4 separate regions of the Homo sapiens genome follow, and regions 1, 2 and 4 are each linked to region 3. Evidence: promoter capture Hi-C in 16 types of primary human blood cells and fetal thymus (Javierre and others, 2016). All regions are on one chromosome and are shown on one strand. Each heading gives the region's core, a stretch centred on a gene start or on the middle of the fragment in contact. The rest is flanking DNA. Distances are from core to core; before and after follow the strand shown.

Region 1 (3,559 bases), core at 208-2,707, 300 kb after region 3:
GCCTTTGGGCGGGACCCCACTGCCGTCCCACGCCAACCTAGGAGGCAGGGCAGAGATCTCACGGGTTGTGGAGATTTGGAGGGGACAGAGGGGCCCAGGGCACCTGTTCTGGGGAGCAGAGGTCATTATTGGGGCATCTGGAATATTAATTTGGGGATCAGGGAATTTAGGAGTTTATATTAAAGGAGCAGAGAGTGAAACTGGGTGAGCCAAAGAGCAGAATGGTGAGAGCTTCGTTTCAAGGGAGTTGATTTCAAATTCAGTTACTATGAAGAGATCAATTTGGGGTACTCTTGGTCAGAAATGGGAATTTTAGATTGGAGATTAGATTAGAGGCTGCTCTGGTCAGAAAAGTGGGACTTAGGAGTGAGGATCATGGTAGGGTTAGCCCAGTCAAAAATGGGGGTCCAGGATGGGAGGTCGGGTTATGGTGAGAAATGGAAGTTCAAGGTTAGAACTGAGGGTGCCAAGACCAGGCGCGGTGGATCACACCTGTAATCCCAGCACTTTCGGAGGCCGAGGCGAGTGGATCACAAGGTCAGGAGTTCAAGACCAGCCTGGCCAAGATGGTGAAACCCCATCTCTACTAAAAATACAAAAATTTGCCGGGCAGGGTGGTGAGCGCCTGTAATCCCAGCTACTCGGGAGTCTGAGGCAGAGAATTGCTTGAACCCAGGAGGCAGAGGTTGCAGTGAGCTGAGATCATGCCACTGCACTCCAGCCTGGCAACAGAACAAGACTCCATCTCAAAAAAGAAAAAGAAAAGAAAAAAAAAGAACTGAGGGTACCCCCATCAAGAAATGGGGACTCCGGGTTAGGGGCTGGGCTGGGTGCCAGGGTGGGTCTGAGGTTCATCACCAGAGATAACTCCCATGGTAGGCCACGATGTTGGCGTGCCGGCAAGTTTTCAATATGAGGATTTCCTTCTGAAGGGTGGAGACATCATCATCTGTGAGGAGGGCGGGAGAGAAAAGGCAGCTCGCATGGGGAGAGAGCTACAGGGGAGGTGATCCCAGTGTCCCAGGAGGCGAAGGTGGGGATGTGGGGAAGGAGCTCCATGTTCCCTCCTCACCAGGCTCCATCTTCACCATCTTCAGTGCCACCAGGTCCCCTGACACCTTGTCTCGAGCCTTGCAAAGGGGAAGTTGGCAGTCAGGCAGGCTCCATTTGCCAGAGTCCCTCCACAGCATCCCTGAGTCAAGGTCAAGAACTGGGACCCCCTCTTGCAGCCTCCTCCCTGCCGAGGGCTTGCCTTAAAGGTCACTGGTTGTAGGGTGTTGGGGACAGAGGGGCTTCCTCACCTTAAAGACTTCCCCATACGTGCCGCCACCCAGCCGCTGTAGCAGGTCATAGTGGTCCCGGGGGTCTCTATTGAAAATGTCAGGGTCCACGACGTCCATCCCTGGGGGCCTGAGCTGGGCCTGCGCCCAGGGGCCAGCAGGGCCTCAGGGCTCAACTTCTGGCACCTCCCTCCGTCCCCAGAAGCCCTGCACCCGCCTTGCCTCCGCGGGCTGTGGCCTCCCCCCTCCTCACTCTCGCTTCCTGCCCCAGCTGCACTGCACGACTGTGCAACGGGCTCCACCCCCCCGTCCCCTGGGCTCTGAGAGCCTCTGAGGGGCAGCTTGTCTTGGGACCCAAGGGACCACCCTCAACCTCCAAGGCCCAGGGCTGGATGTAAATGTGATGCAAATGATCTTAATCGTAACTGGGTTGGAGGGGGGTGCCTTAGAACCCCCGCCCCCGTCTCCTAGGTAGTGTCTAAACCTCTGCTGGGTGCTTGAAGGTTTGGCCACAACCCGAAGGCGGCAGGTCTGCAAAGGGATGGCTATGCAGTGTACATGCCTGTTCACCTGTCACATACATGCACTTGGGTTACCTCCTCTGCACTGCGCAGGCGTGTAGACGTGCATCTGCCTGGATACCTGTGTGCACAGTACACACGTGGATGTACCCAGGACATATACCTCCACATGCATGGCACATAACTGCATTTTGTAGGCCTGCAGTGTACAAAACCTATACATAATATATAATTCATGGCAGTACAAATGGGACGCTCGCCCTCAGCTCCAAGACCGGAACCTAATGGAGACGGGGCGCGATCCGGCGAAGTCCAGGAGCCCTCACCCCAGCCCCTGCCCGGCAGAGCACAGTAGCTTTGTGGGACCCTCCTCCTGGAGCTGGGGACCAAGGGCTGAGACTTGAAACTGGAGAGCTCAGGATCCTGCACCAGGCGCCCAGGCCTGTGGCAAGAGGGACCTCAGAACACCTCCCTCGGAACTTGGCCATGGCCTAAACGTAAGGCTGCTGCGTGCATTCCCGCAGAGCTCCGTGGCCTCATGGCCGCGCGCAATACAACGCGCGCGCACGCCGCCAGAGCTCCGGGTGCTTCCCGGTGAGTTCGCGCGCGCACGCTCCCGCGCTACCGGCACTGGAACTGGGTCTGTGAGGCCCGGGAAAAGCTTAGCCCCGCCCCCTCGCCACGAGAGGCGCCTGCGCACTGGGATCCAGTAAGATTTTTCTCACGCTGTCTGTCCAGCTTGAGTGGCGCGAATGCGCACGCGCCAATTGCGCCTGCGAGGAAGAAGTCACGTGGCAGCCGGAAAGCGTGGCGGCTGCTGCTAGAGCCTTTCCCTTTACCGCACCCAAGGAGCTGGAGCGACAACAACGACGTCGTTTCCGTTTCCACCACCTCTTCCTGTTCCCGTCCTTGAGGACGCCGTGCCGGGTCAGTGTTAGCCTCCAGCCCTGGTTGTGGAAGGCGACAGAAGTCATGGCGATGTTTGAGCAGATGAGAGCCAACGTGGGCAAGTTGCTCAAGGGTATCGACAGGTCTGAGCCCGGTTGGAGGAAGCGCTCTGGCCAAGCGGGGCGGAGGAGAGGGTTTTCCGGAGACAGCAAGGGGTGTTCAGGGTCCTGGGCTTGCCGCGGGGTGGGGTTTCTCTATCCTCCTGGAGGAGGAGATGCTTAAAGAAACGGCACTGAGCTGGGGGTAGTGGCTCACGCCTGTGATCCTAGCACTTTGGGAGGCCGAGGTAGGTGGGTCGCCTGAGCCCAGGAGTTAGAGACCAGCCTGGGCAACAGCCAAACCCCGTCTCTAAAAGAAAGAAACAAAAGCACTGCAAAGGCCTAGAAGCGAGAGAATCTTGGTACCACTCAGTCTCTTCGTAAATTGCCTTAAGGTTTCCTTCTCTGCTCCGCCTCCTTTGAGTGCCTCTTAATCTCTCCCTTCTCTGCTCTATAAGTCATTCATTCTCCACACGTTTACTGAAATAAACTGTCAGTGCTAGGCAATGCTGGGAACCACAGGCGAATCAGACAGCGGCAGATCATGCCTTCACGGTCTGAGTTCCCTTTCCATAAGGGAGACAAACCTGACAGCAGACAGCGATAGCCGGGAGAGATTAGAACTGAAATGGGGGAAGCAAAGGCCAGAGTGTTCAGGTGGACATGGAGGAAGTAGGCAGCGAGGTAGGCAGGAGAGGATGGGGCTGGATCAGGGTGGAGGCCTGAACAGGGGAGGAAGGGGTGAGTAGCAGAGACATTCAGGAGGCCAGGT
Region 2 (3,181 bases), core at 93-2,592, 430 kb before region 3:
ATATCCAACTCTCCTCTGAGCCGTTTCTTTCCTTGGACCATTGCCTTCTCCAGAGCTAATTTCATTTTTTCCTGGGCCAATTTCTCCTGTTTTTTGGCCAAACTATCCTCTACTTGGACCAATTTTTTCTCTGTTTCAGCCAGTTTCTCCTTCTTCTTGATCACAGTCTCCTTTTCCTGTGTCAGCTTCTCCTCTACCTGAGCCAGTATCTTGTTGAACATTCCCAATTTGTTCTTTACTTGCACTAATTGCTTTTTGCTGTGGGTGAGTCTTTCTTTATTATAGAGTAGGTTCTCTTTCCTCTGAGCCAATTTTTCCTTCTCCTGGGCCAGATTCTTCTTTTCCTGAGCCAGATTCTTCTTCTGGTACAGTATCATCTTGTTCTTTGTGAGTTCTTCCATGCTGTTGATCCATCTTTCCCTTTTTTGGGCCAGTTTCATCTTCTTCTCAATCAATTGCTCCCTTTTCCGTCCCAGTCTTTCCTCTTCCTCAGGCATTTTTTCCTTGTGCTGGGCCAGTTTCTCCTTTTCCTGGATCAGCAACTCTTCTTCCTGGGCCAGTTTTGTCTCTTCTTCAGACAGTTTCTCCCTTTGCCAGGCCAATGCCTCCTCTTCCTCAGCCAGTTTCTTCTTTTCCTCAACCAGTTTCCCCTCTTCCTGATTCAGTTCCTCTTCTTTCCAAGACAGTTCTTCCATGTCCCATTCCAGTTCCTCCAATTCCTGGGCCAGCTCCTTTTCTTGCCAGTCCAGATTTTGTTCCCTCTGGGGCAGTTCTTCCACTTTCTGGGCCAATATGTTTTTCACCTCAGCCAGTTTCCCTCCTTTCTTTGCTAGTTTCTCTTCTTCTCTAGCCACTTTCTCCCATTTCTTGGCCAGTTTCTTCCTTTTCTGGGCCAATTTCTCCGCCTCCTGGCTTAGCTTCTCCCCTCTTTGGGCCAGTGTTTCCTCTTTCTGGGCAAACTTACCCTCTGCCTGGGCCATTTCCCTGTCATCCTGGGTTATTTTCACGTATGCCTGGGCCAGTTTTCTCTCTTCCTGGGCCAACTGTCTCTCTTCTTGTGCAAGTTTCTCTTCTTCTTGTGCTAATTTCCTCTCTTCTTGGGCTCGTTTTTTTTCAGCTCGGGCTCGTTTCCTGTGTATTCTGGCCCATTTGTGTTCTTCTTGGATGTGTCTCTGCTCTTCTGTGACCTGCTGTTCTTTTTCTTCCCCCTCCCGAGACACTTCTTCCTCCAAAGTCACTTCTTCCTCATCCTTGTACTGTTGCTCCTTGGACTTAGATGATAACATATTTTCCCAGACTTGTTTCCACTCCTCCCATTTCAGCTTCTTGTCCTCCTGAAGCATTTCCTCCTCCGGGGATAGCTTCTCTCCAGCCTGATGTAGTTTCTCCTCTTCCTGAAGAAGCCTCTTCTCCCATTCTTCCTTCCATGCCTTCCAGGATTTCCTTGTCTCACCATGGACCTGTTTCCACTCATCCCAGGCCTTTTTCCAGTCCTGCCAAGATGGTGTCCTCTCAATCATAACCAGTTTTCCTTCTTGTTTGACCACTTTCTCCTCTAGTGTGGCCATTTCCTCCACTTCCTCACTCATATCCCTCTCTTCTTTGGTCATTTCCCTCTTTATTTTTCCTACTTTTCTTTCCTTCTGGACAGCTTTCCTCCCTTGCTTAGGTGACTTCTGAAAGGTTTTCTTCTCTTCTTTCTTTGATATTTCTTTTCCCATGGTTACATTACCTGGTTCTAAAAAAATAACTTTCTTGCCCTTTTTCAAAATCACTTGGGTTTCCTCCAAGCCCAGCATGTCTCTTGCTTTCTTTTGTGCTTGTTCTTCTTCCCTTGGCATCACTTCCTTGTGTCTGATCACCTCTTGGGTCACACCTTGTATCATGTCCTCTCTAATTGCTCCTTCCTGGATAAAAATTGGTTTCTTCTCTGGCGGGACTACATCCCAATCAAGGTCCTCAAGCAGAACCTTACTTTCTTTCTTCAATAGGGGGCAGATCTCCTGAAAGAGTTCCCAGCTGGGGTGCCTATCTACCAGCATCTCCTGAGCAAATGTCACTAGCTCAGCGTTTAGGTTTTCTGACATTTTTGTTTGGGAACCAGATATCCTCAGGGCCATAAGACGACATAGATCGTCCCTCCATGATGAGCCATCTCCAGCGGTTGACCTGCGGCCAGATATTCCAGAGGCTCCCCGCCCTTGGATTTTAACCTTTTTAGTAACTGGCTGTTCCATTACAGGAGGTGTAGTTTCCTCATTTATAACTTTGGCTTCTTTTCCCTTCTTTTTGTGCTTCTTTTTGAGTTTCTGAGCTGTTGCTTTCTTGTCTCTTTTGTCACGTATTTTCTGCAGCCTCTTCAGGGTCAATGCAATGTGATCCTTCGAGATATCTTTCTCTTGAGAATCAACATCTTTTGAGAGCTTTATTACACTGGTGCTTGAAGACCATTGGGAATAGACGGATGCTTCCTCCATCTCAATTGGTGCGGCCTCAGTCCCACTTTCATCCTCTAAGAGGCCTGGCTCTGTGCTCATCTGTTTAGAGTCTCTCTCTTTCGTCTTCTTGAGACCCCGCAACCATTTTTGGCCTGCAGTAAAAATCGAGAGATGGAGGTAAGCAAAGTATGGGAAGCGACATGAAACCCTTCCCAATATTAGGTGTGAGCTAAGAAGAACTGTCATATAAGAAGTAACAACAGAGAGAACTGAGGCCTTAAAAAAAAAAAGCATTCTCTTTGCTTTATTCCTAGCCCCCTACTCCTGCCAAATCCTAGAGAGCTAGGCCTTAGAGTCTTCCTGAGTTTGAGTGGATCCTTCCTTAGAAAGTCTTTTTTTTTCATTGCTTTCATAAAAATCAATTTTACTGAGGTATAATTTAAACAGGATATACCCATTTTAAGCAAACAGTTTGATGAGTTTGAAAAATGTATACACTTTTGTAATTACTGCAATCACAATCAGGATATAAGGCATTTCTATTATCCCCCTAAATTCCCTCCTATATAGTGTCCCAGTCAACATCTATCTACCCTTAACCTCTGGCCCTAGGCAACCACTGATCTGCTTTCTGTGACTGTAGATTCATTTGCCTTTTTTAGGATTCCAAATAAATAGAATCATTAAAAAATGTGCTCTTTTGTGTTTGCTTTCTTTCAATAGTTTTTGAGATTCTTCCATGT
Region 3 (3,318 bases), core at 673-3,172:
TCTCTTTTTTTTCTTTTCTTGAGGCGTTGTTTCGCTCGTTGCCTAGGCTGGAGTGCAATGGCGCAATCTTGGCTCACTGCAACCTCCGCATCCTGGGTTCAAGCGATTCTCCTGCCTCAGCCGCCCGAGTAGCTGGAATTACAGGTGCGCGCCACCACGCCCGGCTAATTTTTTTTTTTTTTTTTTTTGAGATGGAGTCTCACTCTGTCACCCAGGCTGGAGTGCAGTGGTGAAATCTCGGCCCACTGCACCCTCCACCTCCCAGGTTCAAGCAATTCTTCTGCTTCAGCCTCCTGAGTAGCTGGGACTACAGGCGCACACCACCACGCCCAGCTAAATTTTCTATTTTTAGTAGAGATGGGGTCTCACCATGTTGGCCAGGCTGGTCTCGAACTCCTGACCTCGTGATCCTCCCACCTCGGCCTCCCAAAATCCTGGGATTATAGGTGTGAACCACTGCGCCCAACCTAATTTTTTTGCATTTTTAGTAGAGATGGGGTTTCATCATGTTGGCCAGGCTGGTTGGCTGGGCACCGTGACTCATGCCTGTGATCCCAGCACTTTGGGAGGCCAAGGCAGGTGGATCACCCTCTTTTTTTTTTTTTTTTTTTTTTTTTGAGGCGAAGTCTTGCTCTGTCGCCCAGGCTGGTGCAATCTCGCCTCAGTGCAACCTCTGCCTCCTGGGTTCAAGTGATTCTCAAGCCTCAGACTCCCAAGTAGCCGGGATTACAGGTGCTCGCCACCACACCCGGCTAATTTTGTGTACTTTTATTAGAGATAGGATTTTGCTGTTACCCAAGCTGGTCTCCAACTCCTGGCCCCAAGTGATTCGCCCACCTCGACCTCCCAAAGTGCTGAGATTATAGGTGTAGGCCAGCACGCCCAGCCTGCCCTCTCACTACAAATCTCCTTCTCCTGGGTAACTTTTCATGATCAGAATTATCCTCTTCCATGCCGGGTGCGGTGGCTCACGCCTGTAATCCCAGCACTTTGGGAGGCCTAGGCGGGCGGATCACCTGAGGTCGGGAGTTTGAGACCAGCTTGACCAACATGGAGAAACCCCGTCTATACCACCCCGGGCGTGGTGGCCTGCGCCTGTAATCCCAGCTACTTGGGAGGCTGAGGCAGGAGAATCGCTTGAACCCGGGAGGCGGAGGTTGCGGTGACCTGAGATCGCGCCATTGCACTCCAGCCTTGGCAACAAGAACAAAACTAGGTCTCAAAAAAAAAAAAAAAAGAAAAAGAAGTATCCTCTTCCAGGAAGCTTCACTGACACCCCTAGGCTGGGTCATGTGCCTCCTCAGGGCTCCCACAACATCTCCATCCCAACACAGGGCCTGACACATGGGAGTTGAGACAAGTTAGGTTGAATGAATAAATGAAACACACAGCACACTCACGGAGATGAAGAGACAGGAAAAGGGGGCCAACAGCACAATACAGGTTCGCTTCTTAAATGAGCGGTAGGCATGGCCCTCTGCGCTCCCGGGGGGCCACGAAGCTGTCCTAAGGGTGTGGGCGACAGCAGGCGGGTACTGGGGAGCCACGGAAGGGTGGGGAGCAGGGAAGGGCGGATCGCTAACTGCAAATGAATGAAAGTTGCATTTCTCTGCATATCGCACGCTATCCAGTCCCAAGTTGTTTTCTTCTAAAGGAATTTCCTAAAGAATCGCCCCCCAAGGGGCCTCCTACCCGAACCTGGCATCCCAGCGCTGTGCACACCTCAGGGTTCCAGATCCTTGATCTCGTGACCTCTGACCTGCAGTGACCTCGCCAACCGACGCGGCCGCCCCGCCACGCCCCCGCCCGCCCGATCTCCTCCGCCGGCCACGTACGCCACTTACGCAGCCGGGGCGTCCCCGCAGCCGCCGCCGCCAAGCCTGCCGGGTGCATCCTTCGCCGCCGCCACCTAAGCCGCGGTTCGGAGCGTGCCCGCCCGGCTCCCGTACCCACGCCCCGCCGGCGAAGAGACAGCCAATGGACGTCAGGATTGAGGGAAGGCCTCGCCCCCACCCCCCCGACCCCTCCAGCCCCCCCCTTCACGGAGGCCTGGACGACTGGGCGGTGCCTTACGTAAGAGGCGGAGACTGGGCTACTGGGCTCATGCAGTAAAGCGAGTCAAGGCCTGAGTGGCAGGAGGGCGAGGCCGGGACCAATCCCAGGAGGAGGCGGTGTCTGCCACGACAGAAAATGAGTGTCTGCCCCTTGCCGGGGCTCACGCCCCTAACTCCAGCACTTTGGGAGGCCGAGGCGGGAGGATTGCTTCAGCCCAGGGATTCGAGACTAGCCTGAGCAACATAGTGACCCTCGCCCCGCCCCATCCCTACAATTTTTTTTTTTTTTAATTTAGCCAGGCTCAGTGGCTTAACGCCTGTAATCTCAGCACTTTGGAAGGCTGAGGATCGCTTGAGCCCAGGAGTTCGAGACCAGCCTGGGCAACAGCGAGATCTCCATCGCTACAAAACATTTTTTAAAATGTAAATATCGAGCGAAAAGGTCGATGGGAAATGCAGTTCTCTGCAGACAGCCGTTCAGTTTGGGTCATTGAGAGCACTGGAGAGCCAGAAAAGGCTGTGGAGCAAGGAAAAGAGAAACATTTGTGTTCCTGAGGGGCTAATTGGAGTTGTAGGGGCTTATACAATTTTTGACATCCCTTAGGTATTAAAGTAAATATTTATTTATTTTGAGACAGGGTCTTCCTCTGTTTTCCAGGCTGCCTCGGACCCCCTGAGCTCAAGTGATCCTCCTGCCTCAGCCTCCCCAGTAACTGGCACCACAGGCATGCACCACCATGCCCAGCTAATTTTTAAATTTTTTGTCAAAACAGGATCTTGCTATGTTGCCCAGGCTGGTCTCGAATTCCTGGGCTCAAGCCATCCTCCTGCTTCAGCCTCCTAAAGCATTAGGATTACAGACATGAGCCACAGTGCCCGGCCTTAAAGTGAATATTTAGAGTGAGAAAAGGAAACCCAACAAGTTAGGTGAGAAGAACCAGGTGTCTCTCTTGGAATAGATCTTAAGGCAGTTTCCCAGAAATTCATAAAAATGTTCTCACATTGCAACCTGGTTCCCTCTGTCCACCAAAAGCATTCTACAACCCCCAGCAACTCACAGCACACAGGCGCACCTGCAAGTGAAGAGCCCTGCCCACCTAGCGTCCTTAGTCTCTCCTCTCTCTGACTCTCAGTCTCCCCCCTTCTCTCCCTCTCAGACTCCCCGACTTATCTCAGGAAAACATAGTGGTGGAAGTTACTTCTGCGCAGCGATAGCGCATCCGGAAGGATGTCAGCAAGTGACCCTATCGCTGTGGCTTCCTCT
Region 4 (3,514 bases), core at 766-3,265, 410 kb before region 3:
CAAACTCCTGACCTCAAGTGATCCGCCCACCTCCCAAAGTGCTGGGATTACAGGCGTGAGCCACTGTGCCTGGCCAAAAATATTTTTCTTATGCAAGTGATAGTATACTATATACACTGTTATTCACTTTTCTCTTAATATACCTTTAAGACTAATTCATATTAATACATATAACTCATTTCCCAACAGTTACTAGCTGCAGGGTATTCCACCGTGTGGCTGAACTATCATTTATTTATTCAAATTTCTATTAATGGACATTCGGTAGTTTCCAACCTTTTGCTACTGCAGCTAATGCCGCAAATGAGTATCTTTGTTAGTGCCTCATAACATTTTAATTTTATTTGATTTTAATTAACTTAAATTGTAGAACTGAGGCCAGGCATGGTGGCTCACGCCTGTAATCCCAGCATTTTGGGAGGCCGAGGCTGGCAGATCACGTCAGGAGATCGAGACCATCCTGGCTAACATGGTGAAACCCAGTCTCTACTAAAAATACAAAAATTAGCTGGGTGTGATGGCGCCTGCCTGTAATCCCAGCTACTTGGGAGGCTGAGGCAGGAGAGTCACTTGAACCAGGGAGTCAGAGGTTGCAGGGAGCCGAGGTGGCGCCACTGCACTCCAGCCTGGCGACAGAGTGGGACTCCGTCTCCAAAAAAAAAAAAAAAAAAAGTAGAACTGAAGCAATGAAAACATTTTTCCATTAACCTAACTTGGAATAATATTTTGGATATATTTGGGTTAAATAAAATATTAAAATTAATTTCATAGCTGGGTGAGATGGCTCACGCCTATAATCCCAGCACTTTGCGAGGCTGAGGTAGGAACATGTCTTGAGGCCAGGAGTTCAATACCAGCCTGGGCAACATAGCAAGAAAAAAAAAAGTAAATAATAATGATAAATAAAATGAATTTTACCTGTTTATGTCAAAATTAAAATTGCATATGTGGCTTGCATTACACATAAAAACACACACATATATAATTTTTTTTTTTTTTAAAGAGACAGGGTTCTGCTTTGTCGCCCAAGCTGGAGGGCAGTGGTGCAATCATGGTTCACTGCAGTCTCAAACTCCTGGGCTTAAGCGATACTCAGCCTCTTAAATAGCTGGGACTATGGCCACATGCCACCACGCCTAGCTAGTTTTTTAGTTTTAGTAGAGATAGGGTCTTGCTATGTTACCCGGCCAGTCTCCAACTCCTGGCCTTAAGTGATCCTCCTGCCTCGGTGGCTCAAAGTGCAGGGTATATTTCTCTTAGCTAGTATTGCTCTACATTGTTGTAGTCTGGTGGTGGCCTGATATCCCTACTGGACTGAAAACTCCCTGAAGGTAGGAGTCCAGTCTGTCTGGATTTCTCTTGTGTCTCCATAATCACCCAACCTGACATGGAATAGGTGGTTAATCCATTTTTGTTGAATGAGTGGAAAAATGTGCTCTCCCAGGAAGAAACATATGCTTCCCAGCTTCAAGTGTTAGTGAACATCTTCCTAGAAGGCAGGCTGAGGCGGAAAGGGTATTGACTCCGGCTTCTCCACCAGAGGACCTTGCAATTCCAGTCAATTCCCTCGGTAACTCTTATGGAGGAGTGGCAATATACCTTAAAAAAGGAGTGTGTGTTGCGGGGTATTCCGCTGCTTGGTTATGTCACCAGGTGGATTAAATTTGGACAAAATTTCCCAAGGTGTAGGTACTCTACAAACACTAGTTACCCTCAGGAATGTGCGATCAACAAAAGAATGCAAGATAACAAGGCCCCTAGGCAGCCCCTGGGTCTTGTGGCTCCCGTCGAAGGCAGAGCTCTGGAGCCGCCTACGCCGGGGACAGGCGACTACACCTGGGGCCCCTCACCCTCGGGCCTCCTGCACGTGGCAGGGAAGGCAGGGCGTCTCTATCTCAAAGCATTGGCTGCGCCTGTTACCTGCGACAGGATTCCCGACAAGGGACGGGTACGGCGTGTGCACTCAGGAGCTCCTAGAGCTAGGGGCAGCAACTAAGAAGCTACCTGGCGGATGTTGCGAGAGGACTCCGCCCACAGAACGGTTGGCCCCCAACCCCGCAGCCGGCGGACTTCCCGAGGCCAGGGGTCTGAACGCGCGTGCGCATGGGCGCGCGCCCGGCGCGAGAACGCGCGCGCGCTCTCGAAAGAAAAAAAAAAAAAATCCTCTCCGCGGGGTCCCGCGGCAATTTAGGCCGGGGTCTGCCGACGACCGCGCGTGCGCGGGCGTGCATCTACGCCCTCCTCCACCGCCCCCTCCGCTGGGGGTCTAGCGCACTGCTCCGCTTCCCCCGTTTCCCCCGGGCTAGCGTCCTAGGGGTAAGTGACTCGAGCCTGGCAGAGAGTGAGGGAGAGGTTCCGCCGAATGAAGGGAGGAGGTAGACGGGGCCAGGAGAAAGGAGAAACCGCCCCGGCGGGGCGAAGAGCGCGGCTCTCGAGCTGTAGTCTGCAGGAGACACACCTCCCTCCCTCACGCCCCTCGGGGCTGCGGAAGTGCTCTACAGACTGGAGCTGCACGAAGGCGACCAGCGGACTACCGTTCCTAGGAGGCAGCGCGGCGGTGCGCCTACGGCTCCCGGCAGCCCCCGCGCGCCATTCTCTTTTTGAGTTCGCGGCCGGCTAGGGCGAAACTACAGTTCCCAGGAGGACTCGCGCGAAGCGGCTTGGAAGTGGGCAGCCTGGAAGTCACTCGGGCCACCGGAGCTGGCGGCGTCTCCAGCGAGCGGCGCGGAGCTGGACGCCGCGATCGTGGGGCCCGCGAGGCGGGCAGCCGGGGCGTCCAGGTACGTGGCTCCGGGTGCAGGATCGGCCTCGCGCAAGGGTGGCGGGGAATCGGTGGCTGCCCGGACCCCGAGGGTCAGCGCGGGCGGACGGCCGGGTGTGGGTACTGGCCGTGGGGGGCGGCGGCGCCGGGACTCGCGCCCTCCGGACCCAGCCGGACTCGTGCCCGCATGGCTCAACTTTCCAGGCGTGCACCCCGGCGCTGTGGTGAAGAGCTTGGAGGCGGGGAGCGGTGGATTCGCGTCCCGGCTGTGCCACTCGGGAGCCGCGATCTGGGAAAACCGCGCCGAACCTCAATTTCCCCTGCAGTAAAACGGAGTAGGAGAGCATCTTGGCGGAGACTCTGTTGAGATAATATAATAAAACATTTGGCACATAGGAGGCACTTACTACGTATTTGGGTTATTGTTAGCTCTCCGAAAAATGAGGTGAAGATGTTATCGATTGCATAGGGTGAGGATTAGTTGAGCGTGTGCATGTAAAGAGGTGAGTCCTTAGTTAGCACCCAATGCAGGCTAGCTGCTGTTAACCGAGATTATTTTGTTAAGAGCGTTGGTTTGGAAGGCAGAGAGACCCCAGGTTCAAATTTGAACATTTACCAGCTGTGTGACTTTGGGCAACTGGCTTCACCTCTCTGTGCCTTGGTTTCCCTATCTATAAAATGGGGATTTAAATAGCAACCACTTCGTCGAGTTGTTTTCAGGATGCAGTGAGAATACCATGTGTAAAGTGCTTA

Evidence for each region. The method cuts DNA at HindIII sites, captures the fragments that hold promoters and counts their contacts. A CHiCAGO score of 5 or more calls a contact.
Region 1: the fragment with the promoter of MAP4K1 here is called in contact with the fragment with the promoter of YIF1B in region 3 in 4 of 17 cell types (fetal thymus, neutrophils, naive CD4 T cells and 1 more); the score reaches 8.5 in fetal thymus.
Region 2: a fragment that was not itself captured here is called in contact with the fragment with the promoter of YIF1B in region 3 in 5 of 17 cell types (naive CD4 T cells, total B cells, naive B cells and 2 more); the score reaches 7.4 in naive CD4 T cells.
Region 4: a contact is called between the fragment with the promoter of WDR87 here and the fragment with the promoter of YIF1B in region 3, in 10 of 17 cell types (total B cells, naive B cells, naive CD4 T cells and 7 more). The highest score is 12.2, in total B cells.

What each region holds. Positions count from the first base shown.
Region 1 is chr19:38,616,496-38,620,054 of GRCh38, forward strand. MAP4K1 (mitogen-activated protein kinase kinase kinase kinase 1) reads right to left here and starts at 1,458. Exons shown (of 31, transcript NM_001042600.3): 1 at 1,302-1,458; 2 at 1,073-1,130; 3 at 859-949. The coding sequence starts at 1,400. It overlaps EIF3K (eukaryotic translation initiation factor 3 subunit K), which reads left to right and starts at 2,693. Exons shown (of 8, transcript NM_013234.4): 1 at 2,693-2,832. The coding sequence starts at 2,774. RefSeq lists an enhancer at 1,982-2,031. The HindIII fragment of the contact is 13,708 bases long and covers 1-2,460 here.
Region 2 is chr19:37,887,687-37,890,867 of GRCh38, forward strand. WDR87 (WD repeat domain 87) reads right to left here. Exons shown (of 6, transcript NM_001291088.2): 6 at 1-2,590. The region is part of intron 4 of LOC105372395 (a long non-coding RNA gene); the gene reads left to right. Among named protein-coding and RNA genes, the nearest start is that of WDR87, 17 kb to the right of the region's middle. The HindIII fragment of the contact is 9,115 bases long and covers 1-3,181 here.
Region 3 is chr19:38,314,025-38,317,342 of GRCh38, forward strand. It overlaps YIF1B (Yip1 interacting factor homolog B, membrane trafficking protein), which reads right to left and starts at 1,923. Exons shown (of 8, transcript NM_001039672.3): 1 at 1,836-1,923. The coding sequence starts at 1,893. RefSeq lists a silencer at 1,758-2,247. The HindIII fragment of the contact is 4,086 bases long and covers 1,263-3,318 here.
Region 4 is chr19:37,904,579-37,908,092 of GRCh38, forward strand. WDR87 (WD repeat domain 87) reads right to left here and starts at 2,016. Exons shown (of 6, transcript NM_001291088.2): 1 at 1,921-2,016. SIPA1L3 (signal induced proliferation associated 1 like 3) reads left to right here and starts at 2,630. Exons shown (of 22, transcript NM_015073.3): 1 at 2,630-2,780. RefSeq lists a silencer at 2,742-2,981 and an enhancer at 3,282-3,341. The HindIII fragment of the contact is 21,411 bases long and covers 1-3,514 here.